Regions from separate parts of the Homo sapiens genome. Here all the other regions are linked to region 1. The links are contacts of gene promoters, found by promoter capture Hi-C in blood cells and fetal thymus (Javierre and others, 2016). All regions are on one chromosome and are shown on one strand. The core of a region is centred on a gene start or on the middle of the fragment in contact, and the rest is flanking DNA. Distances in the headings are between cores, read along the strand shown.

What was found. The method cuts DNA at HindIII sites, captures the fragments that hold promoters and counts their contacts. A CHiCAGO score of 5 or more calls a contact.
Region 2: a fragment that was not itself captured here is called in contact with the fragment with the promoter of DND1 in region 1 in 11 of 17 cell types (neutrophils, total CD4 T cells, activated CD4 T cells and 8 more); the score reaches 7.6 in neutrophils.
Region 3: a fragment that was not itself captured here is called in contact with the fragment with the promoter of DND1 in region 1 in 5 of 17 cell types (fetal thymus, erythroblasts, naive B cells and 2 more); the score reaches 7.8 in fetal thymus.

Annotation. Positions count from the first base shown.
Region 1 is chr5:140,672,231-140,674,930 of GRCh38, forward strand. It overlaps DND1 (DND microRNA-mediated repression inhibitor 1), which reads right to left and starts at 1,346. Exons shown (of 4, transcript NM_194249.3): 1 at 1,289-1,346; 2 at 1,041-1,158; 3 at 215-676. The coding sequence starts at 1,312. WDR55 (WD repeat domain 55) reads left to right here. Exons shown (of 7, transcript NM_017706.5): 7 at 1-115. HARS1 (histidyl-tRNA synthetase 1) reads right to left here. Exons shown (of 13, transcript NM_002109.6): 12 at 2,449-2,595; 13 at 1,675-2,098. The coding sequence ends at 2,027. RefSeq lists enhancers at 220-1,015, 1,016-1,811. The HindIII fragment of the contact is 8,462 bases long and covers 1-1,371 here.
Region 2 is chr5:140,385,843-140,388,542 of GRCh38, forward strand. The region is part of intron 1 of ANKHD1-DT (ANKHD1 divergent transcript); the gene reads right to left. It overlaps LOC124901087 (a long non-coding RNA gene), which reads left to right. Exons shown (of 2, transcript XR_007058967.1): 2 at 731-947. Among named protein-coding and RNA genes, the nearest start is that of ANKHD1-DT, 14 kb to the right of the region's middle. The HindIII fragment of the contact is 1,149 bases long and covers 699-1,847 here.
Region 3 is chr5:140,347,852-140,350,551 of GRCh38, forward strand. No RefSeq gene overlaps it. Among named protein-coding and RNA genes, the nearest start is that of HBEGF, 2.6 kb to the left of the region's middle. The HindIII fragment of the contact is 1,143 bases long and covers 709-1,851 here.

The DNA of each region.
Region 1 (2,700 bases), core at 96-2,595:
TAAGTCAGGAGGTAATGCTCGGGAAGTGTCACAAATTTAGGTAAGCGGTGGTGGTAGCACCATTGGAAGTTTTAAAAATCTGAGATCAAATAGTAAAAGGTTGCAAATTCTGGCATGTTTGACTCTAAGATCTTGTAACTTTAACAGCTATGCTCAGTATAAAGTGCCGGGCAGAACGCGTTTGGCCCCAACCAGCACCCCCGCCCCAGCCTACCTTCCACCAGGGCCTTTTTGGCCATGGCAGCGGCCCGGTGCGAGCTGAATTTGAGCAGAGCGATCTGCCCGGGCGCCGGTCCGGGGCTGGGCAGCAGCCGCGCCTCCTGCAAGCCGGGACCCAGCGGCTGCAGCGCGAGCAGCAGCGCGCTGCGGGTCAGATTCGGCGGCAGGCCGTCAACGCTCAGCTCACACTTCTCGGTGCTGCGGCACACGAGCAGCGGGCAGGACGGCCGCAGCGGATGGTTGTGCAGCGTGGCGATGGCGGCCTGCGCGCCGCGCCTCGAGCTGTAGCGGGCATAGGCGAAGCCGCGGTTCAGGCCGCTGAAGGTCATCATCAGGCGGAACTCGTAGAGGCGGCCCACGCGCTGGAACAGCGGGATAAGCTGGTGCTCGTACACGTCCTGAGGCAGCCGCCCGATGAACACCTCTGACCCAGCTGGCGGCGGGCTGCCCACCCAGCCTGTGGGAAGAGGGTATGCAAGGCCACCGTCAGGCGACGCTTTCGAATTCTGAGCCCACGGACCCAGCGCGCGGGGGTGGGAGGCGATGTGAACAAAGGTCTGTGAAATGGGTTTACACCCGTACCCTGGGTGGTTGGCATAATTAGGTGACTGCGCTAACAAGGGGGCTGGCACAGAGTAGGTACACCTTGAGATTGGCCCCCTCCCTCGACGGGGCGGGTGGACGTGGAGCCACAGTTCCTCCTTTGCTGGGGGGTATAAATCCGGGTAGTTCGCAGTTTCTGACAGTGAAGGCTCGGAGCAGCCCCTCCCCCAAAGGGGGCTGGTGTAGCCGGACAGGCGGAGGGGCTGGGACTACCGTACCTGGGGGTGGCCCGCCATACTTCCTCTGCCCGTTCACCTGCACCAGGCGGATGCCTGTCTCCCTGACCCACGCCTCCAGCGCCGCCTTGTTCTCTGGATTCACCCTCTCACACCACAGCTGAGAGGGAAAGGAAGGTTGGAATGGCGGATCGCCAAGCGCGCCCCCACCTCTCCTGTGGTACTGGGGTCCCTAAAGCCGACCCCCGCTCCGGCGGGGCTCGCCGGCCCCCAAGTCGCCAGCCGCTTACCTCACAATCCCGCTTGGACTGCATGGCTCTCCAGCTGGCCCCCTCGTACCCTCTTTATAACTTCCTCCCCACCGGCCTCTGGAAGCTTCCCTACCCCTCCACCCCGCAAGCTCTCATTGGCTCTGAGCGCGACCCCGCCTCCCAGGGGGGTGGAGGTATCCACTGCACGTGCGCCGCCCGGGCTTCGCTCAGACCTTCAGGTGAAAGCTGCAAAGTCGCGGGTGCGTATGTACGGGGGCTGCCTCCCGAGGAGGAGCTCCCAAGCCGCAGGGTGGACGCTGGAGACAAGAACCTCAGGGTCACAAGTTTACTGTTTTTCTCCCTTTTCCATCCCTACATTGGTCTGCTGGGGAAGGCGGGGCTAGGCATCACTGACACACGCAGACTCCGTGGTTGAGGCATTTTATTGGACCTTTGGCAATTGGTGGTGGGGAGGCATCTGCTCCAACTGGTGCGGGGCCCTGCAGATGGGACCATCTCAGGCTGGGTCCTTGTAGCCCAGGAGCACAGACTGGACTAAGCCTCCTGGGCCTTGTATGAAAAAGGTGTTGTACCTGGCCGTTTTTGCCAGTAATAATCAATAAAATAACCATAATAAAAATCAAAGGCTCTGTTCTGACCACTCTTCAGGTCTTCCGCTGAAACGGAAAAGTGCAAAGCAATTGAAGTACATATGCAGTTTGTCTTAACCTCAAATAGTGCCAGTCCCACTTCCTTTCCTCTGATAGTTTGTTCAGTTCAGCAGATGCAGAGGGGCTGGCCTGTTCTCCTTTTGATTTCCTCCACAAGGTCTTCTCTTCGGACATCCACCTGGCCAGGATGGGAGAAGAAGGTGGTATAAGCATCTTCCATTCCACTGCTCCCCGAGTGCCTAGTTTCCTCTAGCCCTCTAGGCATCAGGCTTGTCTCAGCTGGGAGCAGGAACCTAATTAAACACCTCAGGCTAGAGTGTGCCTCTTGGGGGAGCCAACAAACCATAAGGTATATGCAGGGATGGAGATCTCACCCTACTAAGACCACAGTAACAGGTTAAGCCCTCAAGGCTTTTATGAGTTGTACTAATATCAATGCCAGGCTTTTTCTCAGGTCTTGAATGGGCATGGGCCTGCCAAAATGGCATACATTCTCTGTCCCTTAGCCTTCCTGCCCACCTCCCTCACCTCTTCCCTGCTCGTCACTGAACGGAGCTTGATGACCCCATCCTTGAGTTCCTGCTCGCCGATGATAGCCACCAGTGGGATGCCTGCCTCCTCACAGTACTGTAACTGGTTCAGTAGCTTTGGGTTCTTCTTGTACAGCAGCTCAGCCTGCAGGGGACAAGAGCAGAAGATGAAGGCTGGCTTCTGCTGTCCTCAGGGACAGAGGGTGTCCAAGCTGGCACCCTGTTCTTAGCTCTACTTTTGAGAAGTAAT
Region 2 (2,700 bases), core at 23-2,522, 290 kb before region 1:
CCTCTGCTATTTTCCCTATCTATTTTTGAGACAGTCTTGCTGTGTCAGCCAGGCTGGAGTGCATTGGTGGGATGTCAGCTCACTGCAACCTCTGCTTCTTGGGTTCAAGCGATCCTCCCACCTTAACCTCCCAAGTAGCTGGGACTATAGGCGCCTGCCACCATGCTCATTTAAGTTTTGTATCTTTTGTAGAGATGGAGTTTCACCATGTTGGCCAGGCTGGTCTCAAACTCCTGAGCTCAAGTAATCTGCCCACCTCAGCCTCCCAAAGTGCTGGGATTACAGGTGTGAGCCACTGTGCCCGGCTTCCTCTGCCATTTTCTTTCTTTCTTTTTCTTTTTTTTTGAGACGGGTTTCCACTCTTGTTGCCCAGGCTGGAGGGCAATGATGCAATCTTGGCTCACTGCAACCTCAGCTGCTGGGGTTCAAGCAATTCTCCTGCCTCAGCTTCCCAGGTAGTTGGGATTACAGGTGCACGCCACCATGCCTGGCTAATTTTTGTATTTTTAGTAGAGACGGGGTTTCACCATGTTGACCAGGCTGGTCTCGAACTCCTGACCTCAGGTGAATCTGCCTGCCTCGGCTTCCCAAAGTGCTGGGATTACAAGCATGAGCCACCACAGCTGACCAAAAAAATTTTTTTCAAAACAAAAAAATTTAATGAGAAGAGTGGCATCTTCAATGTCTGGCTTTATAAAAGCTTGATTCTTATATCTGCTTCTGTATTCAGTCAAATCCATGAGTGTTTTGGTTGAAGAATATGAAGAAAATCTGGCTCAACACAGCTATGTAGTTGGAAAAGGAAGAAATACTTCAACAGATTTTTCAGAAAACTGGATATTCCCTTCAATACACCAAAATCCAACAACTGTTAGTTTCTTAAAGGTTGAGACCATAACTATAAAATGTCCATACTCTGTTATATTAAAATCCATTGGTCTATCACATACTTTCATTCTGTGTTGTTGTTTTGAGACAGGGTCTTGCTCAGCTACCCAGGGTGGAGTGCAGTGTCTGCAATCACTGCTCATTTCAGCCTTGACTTCCTGGGCTCAGGCGATCCTCCCACCTCAGACTACAGGCATGTGCCACCACACCCAGCTAATTTTTTATATTTTTAGTAGAGACAGGGTTTTGCCATGTTGCCTAGGCTGATCTTGAACTTCTGAGCTCAAGTGATCCTCCAGCTTTGGCCTCCCAAAGTGCTGGGATTATAGGCATGAGCCACGGTGCCCAGCCCTAATCAAAAAAAATTATTTGTAGAGACAGGGTGTCCCTATGTTGCCCAGGCTGGTCTGGAACTCGTGGGCTCAAGCGATCCTCCTGCCTCAGCCTCCCAAAGTGCTGGGATTACAGGCCTATTATGTACTTTCTTTTTTTTTTTTTTAGATGGAGTCTCGCTCTGTTGCCCAGGCTGGAGTGCAGTGGTGCCATCTCAGCTCACTGTAACCTCTGCCTCCTGGGTTCAAGCGATTCTCATACCTCAGCCTCCCGAGTAGCTGGGACTACAGGTGCTCACCACCATACCCAGCTAATTTTTGTATTGTTAATAGAGACGGGGTTTCACTATGTTGGCCAGTCTGGTCTCGAACTCCTGACCTCAAGTGATCCACCTGCCTTGGCCTCCCAAAATGTTGGGATTACAGGCATGAGCCACCGCGCCTGGCCTAATATACTTTCAGTGGATCTTTTACACATGTATGATTTTGTAACATCATGATTGGTCATTTGGAAAACATTGGTTCACTGAACTGTGCAGATCTTTCAAATATTGACACATTTTTATTATATAATATAAAAAACACATTTATTAATACCATGATTTATCTCATCAAAAAAGTTTTTAAAGCTTTTAGAAAACTGTCAACCAGGAATATATACAATTTTCCAAAATTCTCATTTTTGCTCAAAGGTTTTGAATTTTATCATTGGAAATAAATATTGTCAGGTGTTTTCCTTCAAGTGACAGGCTCCAGAGAATGTCTGCCAAATATCCACATCTGAATTACCAACATTTGCCTGTCAGTGCTATTTTCAAGTAAAAATGGTGTTCTATGAAAACAAAAAAGGCCAATGCAGCTTGCAACCAAAATAGCTATGCTCCTTGAGATAACAAATGTACTTTGATATATAGCAGAAGTGCTCTGTGTATCCTTCTCATTTCCTCACATAGAATATTAAAAACACTTGTACTCAAGGGTCAAGTTTTAATAAAATTAATTTTTACTGCTTCATCAAGGATTCTTAATAAAATCGGCCTTTTCCTGCTTTGAGTGCCCAATGGGGAAGAATACATTTACTGCTAGTACAGTTTGATACCATTACCTAATACTGTGCTGAGGTACCAGCTATCTTTGTTTGTTTTTTAGAAACAGGAGCTCACTCTGTTGCCCAGGCTGGATTGCAGTGGTGAGATCATAGCTCACTGTAGCCTTAAACTCCTGGGCTCAAGCAATCCTCCTGCCTTGGCCTCTTGAGTAGCAGGGACTACAGGCGTGCACCACCACACCCAGCAGTACCAGCAAATTTTTAGCCCCCCCCCCCATTGCTTTTGTACCATCAGTGCAAGTCAATATAGTGAAAAATAATATATTAGAATTATAATGAAAATAGTTTTGACTTCATGGATTCCCCTGAAAAGGTCTTGAGGGCTGCAGGAATCTATAGAGCATACTCTGAGAATTGTGGCAATATGGCCAG
Region 3 (2,700 bases), core at 30-2,529, 320 kb before region 1:
AACAATAATAATAATGACTACTTTGTAGGGAGCTTTTTGAGAAATGAATGCGGGAACACATAAAAGTAGTTAGTATAGTGCCAGGCACACTATAAGCTCTCAATAAATGTGACCCATTATTATTGTTGCTGTTAATAATAATCACTAAGCACTTGACCACTCTATTTCCTTAGAGGCCTCTTTTCTCTCACTTCTCTAGATCGCTTGCCTTCCCCTAGGCCATATCTGAGGCTTTATGATATAGTTGGGCTGGTTTCAGACAGAAGCTCACCTGTCACCTATTTGGCTAAGAGCCACTGTTAGATTATCCTTTTGGGTGATGAGTATCGGGCCTAGGACCTCAGTGCATGGTCACCGCCCAAGCCATGACTTTGCCCTCCCTCAGCAGCTGCCTGGCCACCTGCTTCCCCAAAACAAAGCCACCTTGGGGTCAAGGCTCTCCCCAGGGGAGGGTGGAGAGAAACACTTCCTGACACATGGTCAAATCACCCCCTTTCCCCCACCCTCGCCAGAGTCACACCCTGCTCTCTTGCCCCAGCCTGCCTTTCTCCCTTCACATGCTCTGTCCTTCCGCCTTCTCACCCCCACATCAGCCTCAGTCCCATTCATGGGGCAACTCCAAACTTTCATCACACCTGGAGCCTCACCCCAGCTAGGTTTGTGTGTCAGCCAGGTTTTACAGGAAGGGCCTGAAAAAAGAAGATAAAAAGCTTGAATTGGATTTGGGACAGTCACTTCCCCTCTCAGAATCTTGGATGTCTCTGAGCAAAGAAAAGGAATCACAATTCATGCTGAGGCAATCTCATTAACTCAATTATATCATAAACATTAACTGAACATTTTTGGGGGGCACTGGGGACATAGAAATAAATAAGACAGCCCAGGACCTGCTTTCACAGAGCTTATATTCTATAGTAGACAGGCAGCACATTAAGGAAATAAACAAGGAAAAACATATCCTATAGTGATAACTGCTAAGATGAAAGTTAAAATACAATGATGTGCTGTAGGATAATATGTTCCAGTGCCCAGGATGACACTTTAAACTGATTAGCAAAGCCTTCTCTGAGCAGGTGACATGTAAGCTGAGGCCTGAATGAGAAGAAGAAATCAGATTTGGGATCATCTATGACAAAAGCATTCCAAGATGTGCAAATAGTGCAAAGACTCTGAAATGGAAAAAAGTTGGGAGCATTCAAGGAAAAGCAAGAGGGCCAAAAAAGGAGAGATATGGGATGATATTGGAACAAAGGCTAGCAACAGATAAAAGAGGACGTTATAAGCCAAGGTAGACACTGGATTTTATGCCCCATTATTGTCAGAATCATATGAGATGTCAATGAGACAGCACTGTCATGCAGGATTCCTCCATATTGTCCCCTCCTCCTGCTCAGGTCTCCCCCACCTGCTCTCTGGATGTCAGGTTGTCAAATGCCAGGAACATAGTCCTAAGGAAGTAGAGTTCAGACAGACAAGCCTGCTTTTATTGACTGTCTATTGACCATGAGCAAACTGAGGCTTGGAGACTGATTAGCCCTGGGCCACCAGTGAGTCAGAAGGGGGCAAGTGCAGAGCAGAAACCCTGGCATCCTGCTTCCCAGCCCATGCGAGTTTCCTGGGCCTCTGGAAAGGCAGGCTCCATGGGACTCTGAGTGCTGCTGACTCACTGCTAGGCCAGAGTTCTTGATTTGGAGAGAGCACTTGCTCCCCAGTGGGGAGGACCTGGAAGAAAGCGGTGCTAGTGGTGACAATTCCCCTGTAATCAACACTGCACATGCATTATCTTGCTTGATCCTCACAACATCCCCCAAACTAGACACTGTTATCATCATCTGCATTTTAAAGGATTGAAGCTTTAAAAGGTAACATCCCAAGGTCACCCAGCTAGTGAGTGTCTCAGCCTCAATTTGAAACCCCCTCGTTCACTTGGGCTTGTGCTCTCCTAAGCTCAACACTCAAATGGATGAGACGACAGCCGCCATCTCTATGCTTCTGTGGAGGGTAACATTATCAGTTTTACTGAGTTTCAGTCCTTCATCTGTTCTGAGGGATAATAAGAAACTCTGGCTCACTAGACTGGAAGGATGCTTAGGTAAGCACAGCAGGGCAGCTAATGAAATGGATACAGTCTTGGGAGTCAGATACTTGGGGGTTCAAATTTTGTTGGTTTTTTTTTCTTTCTAACTTTGAACATGTTATTCAATTTCTCTTACCTACAGTTTGCTCACCTGAAAAGTGGGGACAATAATAGTAGTTATTATTATAGGGCTTTTGTGATGATTCAGTCAGATCATGTGTATAAAGCGGAATATGATGCCTGGCACATAGTAGGTACTTACTCAATGACAGCGGTTATTATGACCAAATTTTTTTCTTGCTTTCTTTCCTTTTTCTTTTTAAGTGGGAACTTGAATAAAATGTTGGTTTATCATGAGCTAGCCATCCTCAGAGATGAAGTGTTCCTTTCTGGGAGATGGCCATGCTTATCAAAGAGATGCTAGATCTGCAAGGCCACCCAGAGTTTTGGAAACCTCAACCCAAAAAAGCAACTCAGGCTCAGAGGTCAGAGGGAAGCTGTGCCCCCTGGGGGAGAGGATTCAGCTGCCTTCTCATTCCCCTCTGACCAGAAGTGAATCCTGCACAGCCCTTGAACTCTGCTGCGTTGGGGAGAGGGGTAAAGAAGGGCACCTCCATTAAGGG